Linked DNA regions of Homo sapiens: regions 2 and 3 are each linked to region 1. The links are contacts of gene promoters, found by promoter capture Hi-C in human tissues and cell types (Jung and others, 2019). All regions are on one chromosome and are shown on one strand. Each heading gives the region's core, a stretch centred on a gene start or on the middle of the fragment in contact. The rest is flanking DNA. Distances are from core to core; before and after follow the strand shown. Region 1 holds the start of ZNF440 (zinc finger protein 440). Region 2 overlaps ZNF44 (zinc finger protein 44). Region 3 has its middle 12 kb from the start of ZNF20.

What was found. Contacts are between HindIII fragments. The study calls those that stand out against the background at their distance.
Region 2: a contact is called between a fragment that was not itself captured here and the fragment with the promoter of ZNF440 in region 1, in 2 of the 25 tissues and cell types used here (H1 embryonic stem cells and adrenal gland).
Region 3: a fragment that was not itself captured here is called in contact with the fragment with the promoter of ZNF440 in region 1 in 4 of the 25 tissues and cell types used here (dorsolateral prefrontal cortex, hippocampus, liver and 1 more).

Annotation. Positions count from the first base shown.
Region 1 is chr19:11,812,853-11,815,809 of GRCh38, reverse strand. ZNF440 (zinc finger protein 440) reads right to left here and starts at 1,537. Exons shown (of 4, transcript NM_152357.3): 1 at 1,360-1,537. The coding sequence starts at 1,362. RefSeq lists silencers at 1,133-1,202, 1,623-1,702. The HindIII fragment of the contact is 18,958 bases long and covers 1-2,957 here.
Region 2 is chr19:12,275,444-12,278,400 of GRCh38, reverse strand. ZNF44 (zinc finger protein 44) reads left to right here. Exons shown (of 4, transcript NM_016264.4): 2 at 2,319-2,445. Among named protein-coding and RNA genes, the nearest start is that of ZNF44, 18 kb to the left of the region's middle. The HindIII fragment of the contact is 9,813 bases long and covers 1-2,957 here.
Region 3 is chr19:12,126,802-12,129,758 of GRCh38, reverse strand. No RefSeq gene overlaps it. Among named protein-coding and RNA genes, the nearest start is that of ZNF20, 12 kb to the left of the region's middle. The HindIII fragment of the contact is 9,523 bases long and covers 1-2,957 here.

The DNA.
Region 1 (2,957 bases), core at 288-2,787:
TGCCTCAGCCTCTCAAGTAGCTGGGATTACAGGCACGCGCCACCATGCCCAGCTAATTTTTGTATTTTTAGTAGAGATGGGGTTTCACCATGTTGGCCAGGCTGGTCTTGAACTCCTGACTTCCTGATCCGCCCGCCTCGGCCTCCCAAAGTGCTGGGATTACAGGCGTGAGCCACCGCGCCCGGCCCTAAACTCTTTAATTGTTAACGTACCTCAGTTTAATTTTTAACAGAAAAAAGTGGGCACTGGGGACCCCAAAGACCGCTACTCCTCCCACACGAACCTGTCAGAGATGATAAATTACTTTTCTAAAAGCTTTAGTAAGCTGTTCTTTGTTTCTTGAGACCGACTTCCTTGTCTCCTAGCTACCTGTTCTGTAAACAACCTTCCCGCTTTTGCCGCGCCCAGACAAGTCCAGATACGCCTTCCCGCCTAGTAACGGACAGTCCCTGTTCCTTCCCGTCTCATAGACCCTATTTAATTTGTGTGTGTGTGTGTGTGTGTGTGTGTGTGTGTGTGTGTGTGACGGAGTTGCCCAGTTGTCTCGCTCTGTTGCCCAGGCTGGAGTACAGTGGTGCGATCTCGGCTCACTGCAAGCTCCACCTCCCGGGTTCACGCCATTCTCCTGCCTCAGCCTCCCGAGTAGCTGGAACTACAGGCGCCCGCCACCATACCCAGTTAATTTTTTTGTATTTTTAGTGGAGACGGGGTTTCACCGTGTTAGCCAGGGATGGTCTCGATCTCCTGACCTCGCGATCCGCCTGCCTCGGCCTCCCAAAGTGCTGGGGTTACAGGCGTGACCCACCGCGCCTGGCCAGACCCTATTTAATTTTAAACCTTAGCCTATCGAGTTAGTTTAGATTGTGAGGTCCAACCCTAGCCAATGAGGAAAGGACACAGAAGTGCTAGAAACTGCGTTAAGGAGAAAAACCCCTGCCCTACCCCGCTCGCTGTGCTCTTGTGACTGGCGCAAGCTGCACCCTTGTGTAGAAATAAATTTGCTTTGCTGAGGAATTTTCTGCCTAGATGCTGGTTTTCTTTGCGGCACCGGGCACTTGTTTCTAACAAACCCCATATCCGAGGCGGGATCCCCCCATATCCCTCCCGTGGCCCCCGCATAATGTGGGGAGACGCGGAGCTGCCCAGATTAGGCTCCGGAGCCGGGGCCGCAGTCGCCGTGAAGGGACGGGACAGGAGGCCCGGGGTCCCGGCTGCCGGCCCAGCCCCACCCTGCGACCGAGGGGACTCGCGTCCACGACCCCGGAGTCGCCGCGTGGAGGCCCGGGTCCCGCCTCAGCCGGTTCCGGCCGATTCCAGCCCCTCTCCCAGTCGCCCGGACGCCAGCCCCCTCACACACACCATTTCTCGGCTTCCAGGGTGTTCCGGCGTCCTCTGCGTGGCTCCCGCGACTAGTGTAGGTCACAGTGCAGGTTACAGAGCGACAGAAGCTCTGGTGGAGGCACCTAGTCCCTCTCGAAGCAAGAAAGCCGAGATCCTGACCGCTGTCGGCGCAGCACTAAAGGAATGGACGGAGGGCGACTGTCCCTTCCCCCTTCCCCGGATGGACAGTTGACAGGGCCCCGCCCCAGCACCCCTGATTGGATGGGGCGCCAGGCCCCGCCTCCTCCGTGCTGAGTGACAGCAGAAGCCCTGGGTAACCGGGTCCTGCAGATCATGTCTGACTTGTTCTGGCCACAGCGTCTCTGAGCGAGCAGCCTCTCTAAGCGAGCAGCCTCTCTAAGCGAACAGCCTCTCTAAGCGAGCGCCTTCCTTGAGCCCTGGTCATCAGATATTTGCATTTCAAGGCGACTTGCTCCTTATTGTTAGAAGAGGCACTGTTAGCTTCCTCATTCAAGGGGCTGTCCCTGCTCCTTCCTTCTGCACGGGATCACAAGTGTGTGCAGGGCATTTCAGACTCAGTGTTCAATGGAGAGATACGCTTGCCTCAGAGCAGGAGGGGAGCCCAGACCAGGCAAGGCACGACTGCACCAGGAGAGAGAGGCAGATGTCTTCCAGCGTGCGGGAAATGGGATGAGGCATGGCCAAGGCTTCCTCACACTGCTATGGACTCCAGCAAGGTTTTCCTTGTAAGGGAGCTAACCAAGCCAGAACTTATTAAAGATTTAGAGGCTCTCAGTACTATGTATATCTATCCCTGGTGCATTGACAGTGACTGAAGACCCATTTTTCAGGACATGCTGTGTAGGACTGAGCCAGGGAACATGATATAGCATGGCACTTTTATCTCACATATAACCCCCAAGGAGCAGGGTTAACTGAAATGAAAGATGGTCTCAGGGGAAGCTGTAAATGAGAAATTCTGTCATAGAAATTATGATTTAGGCAGGCCGGGCGCGGTGGCTCATGCCTGTAATCCCAGCACTTTGAGAGGCTGAGGCAGGTGGATCACGAGGTCAGGAGTTCAAGACCAGCCTGGCCAACATGGTGAAATCCTATCTCTACTAAAAATACAAAAATTAGCCAGGAATGGTGGCGCATGCCTGTAATCCCAGCTACTTGAAAGGCTGAGGCAGGAGAATTGCTTGAACCGGGAGGCAGAGTTTGCAGTGAGCCAAGATCGTGCCACTGCATTCCAGCCTGAGACACAGTGAGACTCCATCTCAAAAAAAAAAAAATTATGTTTTAGCCATCTTTTTTTGAGACGGGGTCTCACTCTGTCGCCCAAGCTGGAGTGCAGTGGTGCGATGGCTACTCAATGCAGCCTCAACCTCCCAGACTCAAGCAATCCTCCCACCTCAGCCTCCTAAGTAGGTGGGACTACAAGTGCCTGCCACCATGCCTGGCTAGTTTTTTATTTTTGGTAGAGATGAGGTCTCATTCGGTTGTTCAGGTTGATCTCAAACTCCTGAGCTTAAGTGATCCTCCAGCCTCAGCCTCCCAAAGTGTTGGGATTACAGGTGTGCGCCTGGCCTCTTGGGCATCTTCATTGCTCCACA
Region 2 (2,957 bases), core at 191-2,690, 460 kb before region 1:
AATCAGGGGGCTGACAGCCTTCAGAGCTGAGAGCCACAAACAGAGTTTTACCCACATATTTATTGACAGTAAGCCAGTGATAAGCGTTGTTTCTATAGATTATAGACTAACTAAAAGCCTTCCTTACGGGAAACAAAGGGAAGGGCTCTGGCTAGTTATCTGCAGCAGGAACTTGTCCTTAAGGCACAGATGGCCCATGCTATTGTTTGTGGTTCAGGAACGCCTTAAGCAGTTTTCCACCCTGGGTGGGCCAGGTGTTCCTTGCCCTCATTCCGGTAAACCAACAACCTTCAGCATGTGCGTCATAGCCATCACGAGCATGTCACAGTGCTGCAGAGATTTTGTTTATGGCTAGATTTGGGGGCCTGTTCCCAACACCTTGGCCTCCCAAAGTACTGGGATTACAGGTGTGAGCCACCACACCTGGCCTTCTAATGTATGTCTTAGTCATCTTGTGTTGTCCTAGGTGGTTGCACACTTTTTGTGTATTTTACAACATTTTAAAGTAGTTCCTGCCCAGTTTGACTCTGATTGGATTCTGTTGTAGATGAAATAGAAAAGAGAGCCTTGTTTCAGACCTTCGGTTAGTCCCCAGACTGATTCAAAAATACAAAGGCAATAATGTGGAAACAAAATGTGATCTGTACACTCTGTGGTGATCAGAGTTCTACACTGGGAACTCTGCTGTCTTCAGGACTGGCAATGAGATGGGCAGAGATGGGGCCAAAGAAAAAACAATACAAGGCTTTTCTATCATTTTTCACTTTCCTGTTTATGTATCTTTTTCTCTCTGTTAATAGTATGGGATGTGAAAAATTACAGTTTTAAATCTTCTGTTTGTTTTTGTAAAGCTGTCTACTTTCTTGATGAGAAGGTTTTTTTTAAGCATCTTTAGACATTTATGACTTCTATAAAAATTGGTTTATGTAATGTTATTGATTATTAAATGTCTGCTGTTGAGATTTATGGAATATAATTGATATTCATGAAAGCTGACACTGAATTCTGTCTAAGAACATTTGCAGTCTGTCCTCTTCTTTTCTTTCTCCTTCGACATTACCCAGTAGAAAGTTACAATTTTTTCTATTTAGTTGGTAAAATCTCTTTTATTAGTCTTTTGTCATACTTAACTACATTTGATCTACAGGGAACCAGTCACCAGCTTCCAAATATTCTCTCTGTGTAATCACGTAGGATAGGCTAAATCCCCCAAGTAAGACATTGAAAAAACAACAACAACAAAAATATGAAATATCATCTACCAGAGTTGCACATTAGGGACCCTGTGCCTAGAGTGTTTCTTTGTGTATGTCTTAGTCTATAAGACTGTTTTTTTGTTACTTACAACAGGATACCAGAACTGGGGTAATCTATAAGAAATGATATTTATTTTTTGCAGTTCTGAAAGCTGGGAAGATCAAGTAAGGTCAAAGTGGGCATCTGGTGGGAATCTTCTTGCTGATGGGGACTCTGTAGAGTCCCTGGGTGGTACAGGGCATTACATGATGAGGGGGCTGAGTGTCTAGCTGAAGTATCTTCCTCTTCTCATAAGGACACCAGAACCTCATCTGTGATAACCAGTTTATTTATTAAGCCATTCATACATGAGTGGATTAATCCATCCATGTGTTCCAAACCCTCAAGACCCACTCACCTCTTAAACCACTACCTTTGATTACTTCCACATTGGAGATTCAGTTTCAGCCTGCATTTTGGAGGGGAAGACATTCAAACCTAGCAGTGGCTGATTGGGTACACTTCCTCTGCTGAGGATGTAATACAATTCCAAACTCTCAGAGGGAAGTTAGGAGTTAAGCAAATACCATAATTTTTACACAAATAGTTTAGGCACACTCCACCCCCTTTATTAGTTATGCTTACGGGGCCCTCCCCTAAATACATTGTCTAGACACCACGAAAGGTTCAACATTGTGAACAAGCAGTTGTAAGGATATGCCGTCTCAGGACTGCTAATTGTAACTCTCTTTTGCACAGTAGGTGGTAGGACTTTGTCATGACAAGGACTACAGACCCACTGTAGAAACAGACATTAGGAGTAATCCAGGCAATAAGATTCACTTGCATAATTCACCAATAAGAGATATGTTCCTACTCAACTGTTATTTTAGCAAGCCCAATTCCAGCATCAGAATTCCAGCATCAGACAGTGAGTGCAGACACAGAATAAGAGTGGATTTACCACGTCATTGAATAAATGCTTGGAAACCACAGCATCATGGGAAGTTTATGAAGGTGAGTATAGGTTCTCAGTACTGTGAGTTTCAACCTTCCTTTTCTGGACATATGGGATGTTTCAGGACTCAGTGGCCTTTGAGGATGTGGCTGTGAACTTCACCCATGAGGAGTGGGCTTTGCTGGGTCCATCACAGAAGAATCTCTACAGAGATGTGATGCGAGAAACCATTAGGAACCTGAACTGTATAGGTATGGATGACATCATGTCTTCATTTGGTCAATTAGAGACATTTGTTTTGTGGTCATCAATGCTGTTCAGTGATTTGAAATATGGAAAAGGGATACAGTTCATTCCTGAACAACACAGGGTGAAGTGCCAGGCCCCAACCTGTTGTATGTCCTCATATAATCTTTTGTCTGCCACAGCTTAACCTACTTTTGACCAGCAGCCTTATCAGTCATATAAACAAGTGACGAGCACATATATGTCATATGTATTGCATACTGTATTCTCAGAATAAAGTAAGTTAGAGAAAGTAAATTTTTTTTCTTTTTTTTTGAGATGGAGTCTTGCTCTGTCGCCCAGGCTGGAGTGCAGTGGCTCCATCTTGGCTCACTACAAGCTCCGCCTCCCGGGTTCACACCATTCTTGCCTCAGCCTCCTGAGTAGCTGGGACTACAGGCGCCCGCCACCATGCCCAGCTAATTTTTTGTATTTTTAGTAGAGACAGGGTTTCAACATGTTAGCCAGGATGGTCTCG
Region 3 (2,957 bases), core at 146-2,645, 310 kb before region 1:
ATTTTTTTGTATTTTTTTTTTTAGTAGAGACAGGGTTTCACCATGTTAGCCAGGATGGTCTCGATCTCCTGGCCTCGTGATCCGCCCACCTCGGCCTCCCAAAGTGCTGGGATTATAAGTGTGAGCCACCACGCCTGGCCCAAAAATTCTTATTTTGACTATTCATGTCTTATTTTTGCACTTTTTCACAAAGCAAGGTCAAAAAGCAAAGGAAAAATCCTTTAAGATCAATGTACTTAGGTTGAAAATGTGTTTTTTCTCAGGAAAAACTTGTAATTTATATAATTACAATCCTCAGTTTATTTGCAGCATCACCAAATTTTCTTACATATTTCAAATGTGAACTTAAGATATATATTTTTCTCATTATTTACATTTTGCTTCCTACCTATGGCTTTTTTTTTTTTTTTTTTGAGACAGAGTGTCGCTCTGTTGCCTAGGCTGAATTGCAGTGGCACGATCTCAGCTCACTGCAACCTCTGCTTCCCAGGTTCAAGCAAGTCTCGTCACAACCTCCCAAGTAGCTGGCACTACAGGCGAACACCACCATGCCCAGTTAATTTTTGTGTTTTTTGTAGAATTGGAGTTTCACCATGTTGGCCAGACTGGTCTCTAAACTCCTGGCCTCAAGCGATCCATCTGCCTCGGCCTCCCAAAGTGCTGGGATTATAGGCATGAGCCAACATGCCTGGCTCCTCTAGACCTTTTAAATCTTTTACTCATGATATTGGTCAGCCCACGGTCAAAATAATTCATAAAAGGTATATACAAAAATTCAACACCACAATGAAAGTTAAATTCATTTGTTTAGAACCACTCAAGCAACTCAGGTGTACACAGATAGACCTGTGGCAACTGGTGAACAATTAAATGGCACAGAAGTGGCTGGGTGCAGTGGCTCATGCCTGTAATCCCGGCACTTTGGGAGGCCGAGGCGGGCGGATCATGAAGTCAGGAGATTGAGACCATTCTGGCCAACATGGTGAAACCTGTCTCTACTAAAATACAAAAAATTAGCCGGGCGTGGTGGCGGGCTCCTATAGTCCCAGCTACTCAGGAGGCTGAGGCAGAGGAATCCCTTGAACCCGGGAGGCAGAGACTGCAGTGAGCTGAGATCGTGCCACTGCACTTCAGCCTGGCAAAAGAGCAAGACTCTGTCTCAAAATAAATAAATGGCACGGAAGTTGCAATAATGACCTCTGCTGTGCAGTACTCTCTTGGCAGAGATACACAAGAACTCCAATAAGGCCCTCATATGATATGCAGAACTGCCTCAAACATCATGTGACCATAGAACTTTGCCAAGGACAGTCTTTTTGTACATCTCTGCACCTGGCTTACCCAAAGATTGGACTGGGCGCATTTCTCAAGCCATTGTCTACTGAACGTTCTTTGTAGCGTGTGGGGCAATGACGATTGCCTAGGTGTAATTTCCTAATCGCTGGGGTAGGTCTGGTTTCTGAGGGCCCAGCAGAGGAACTCAGTTCACAAAAATGGCTTCCTGTAGTTTCTGCTTGATACTTCCTATTCTGCCATCTTCCCAGAATCCTCTTTCCTGACTTCATATACTAACACGTCATTTCAGATCTCACTACAGATGTCACCACCTCAAGACACTGTCTTCTTTTCCGCCCCCCTTACCCCAACTTGAAACTCAAGGTCACACTCTCTCACCCATTACTCCTATTTCATTTAGTGTGTAGAATTTTTTCAACACACTTGTCAGAATCTGGAACATAACGTTCACAGGGTTGATTGCTCTCTGTTTAACAAGGTAAAAAGTTAAGTCATGTAGGCTGGGTGCGGTGGCTCACGCCTGTTATCCCAGCACTTTGGGAGGCCAAGGTAGACAGATCACGAGGTCAGGAGATCGAGACCATCCTGGCTAACATGGTGAAACCCTGTCTCTACTAAAAATACAAAAAATTAGCCGGGCGTGGTGGCGGGCGCCCGTAGTCCCAGCTACTCAGGAGGCTGAGGCAGGAGAATGGCATGAACCTGGGAGGCAGAGCTTGCATTGAGCCAAGATTGTGCCACTGCACTCCAGCCTGGGTGACAGAGCAAGACGCTGTCTCAAAAAAAAAAAAAAAAAAGTCATGTAAATTTAAGTGTCACCTTTCTTTTCTTTTCTTTTTTTTTTTGAACCTTTTCACCAACTGTTACACACTTTTTTTTTTTTTGAGACAGAGTCTCGCTCTGTCGCCAGGCTTGAGTGCAGTGGTGCGATCTCAGCTCACTGCAACCTTCACCTGCTGGGTTCAAGCAATTCTCCTGCCTCAGCCTCCCGAGTAGCTGGGATTACAGGCACGCACTACCACACCTGGTTAATTTTTGTATTTGTATTTGTATTACAGATGTGAGCCACCGCGCCTGGCTTACACCCTATATTAAAAAGTATTTCAGGGGCCAGGCACGGCGGCTTATGCCTATAATCCCAGCACTTTGGGAGGCCAAGGCGGGCGGATCACTTGAGGTCAGGAGTTCTAGACCAGCCTGGCCAACATAGTGAAACCCTGTCTCTACTAAAAGTACAAAAATTAGCCGGCTGGGGTGGTGGCCACCTGTAATCCCAGCTACTCGGGAGGCTGAAGCAGGAGAATCACTTGAACCTGGGAGGCAGAGGTTGCAGTGAGCTGAGACTGCAACACTGCACTCCAGCCTGGGCAACAGAGCAAGACCTTGTCTCTAAAATAACATAACATAACATAACATAACATAACATAACATAACATAACATAACATAACAACATAACATAACATAAATACAGTAGAGTAGAGTAGAGTAGAATTTCCAACAAAGTCCTTTGAACCATTTTCCAGAAAGGCAACGTCAATGAAGCTCCCTCTTGTGGTAAGGGCGGCATTAACATCCACACACTGTTGTGACTGGATTTCTCAAAATTGCACAGGGATCTAAGAGTGGAAAAACTCAAAATGTTTTTCCTGTGCATTCACAC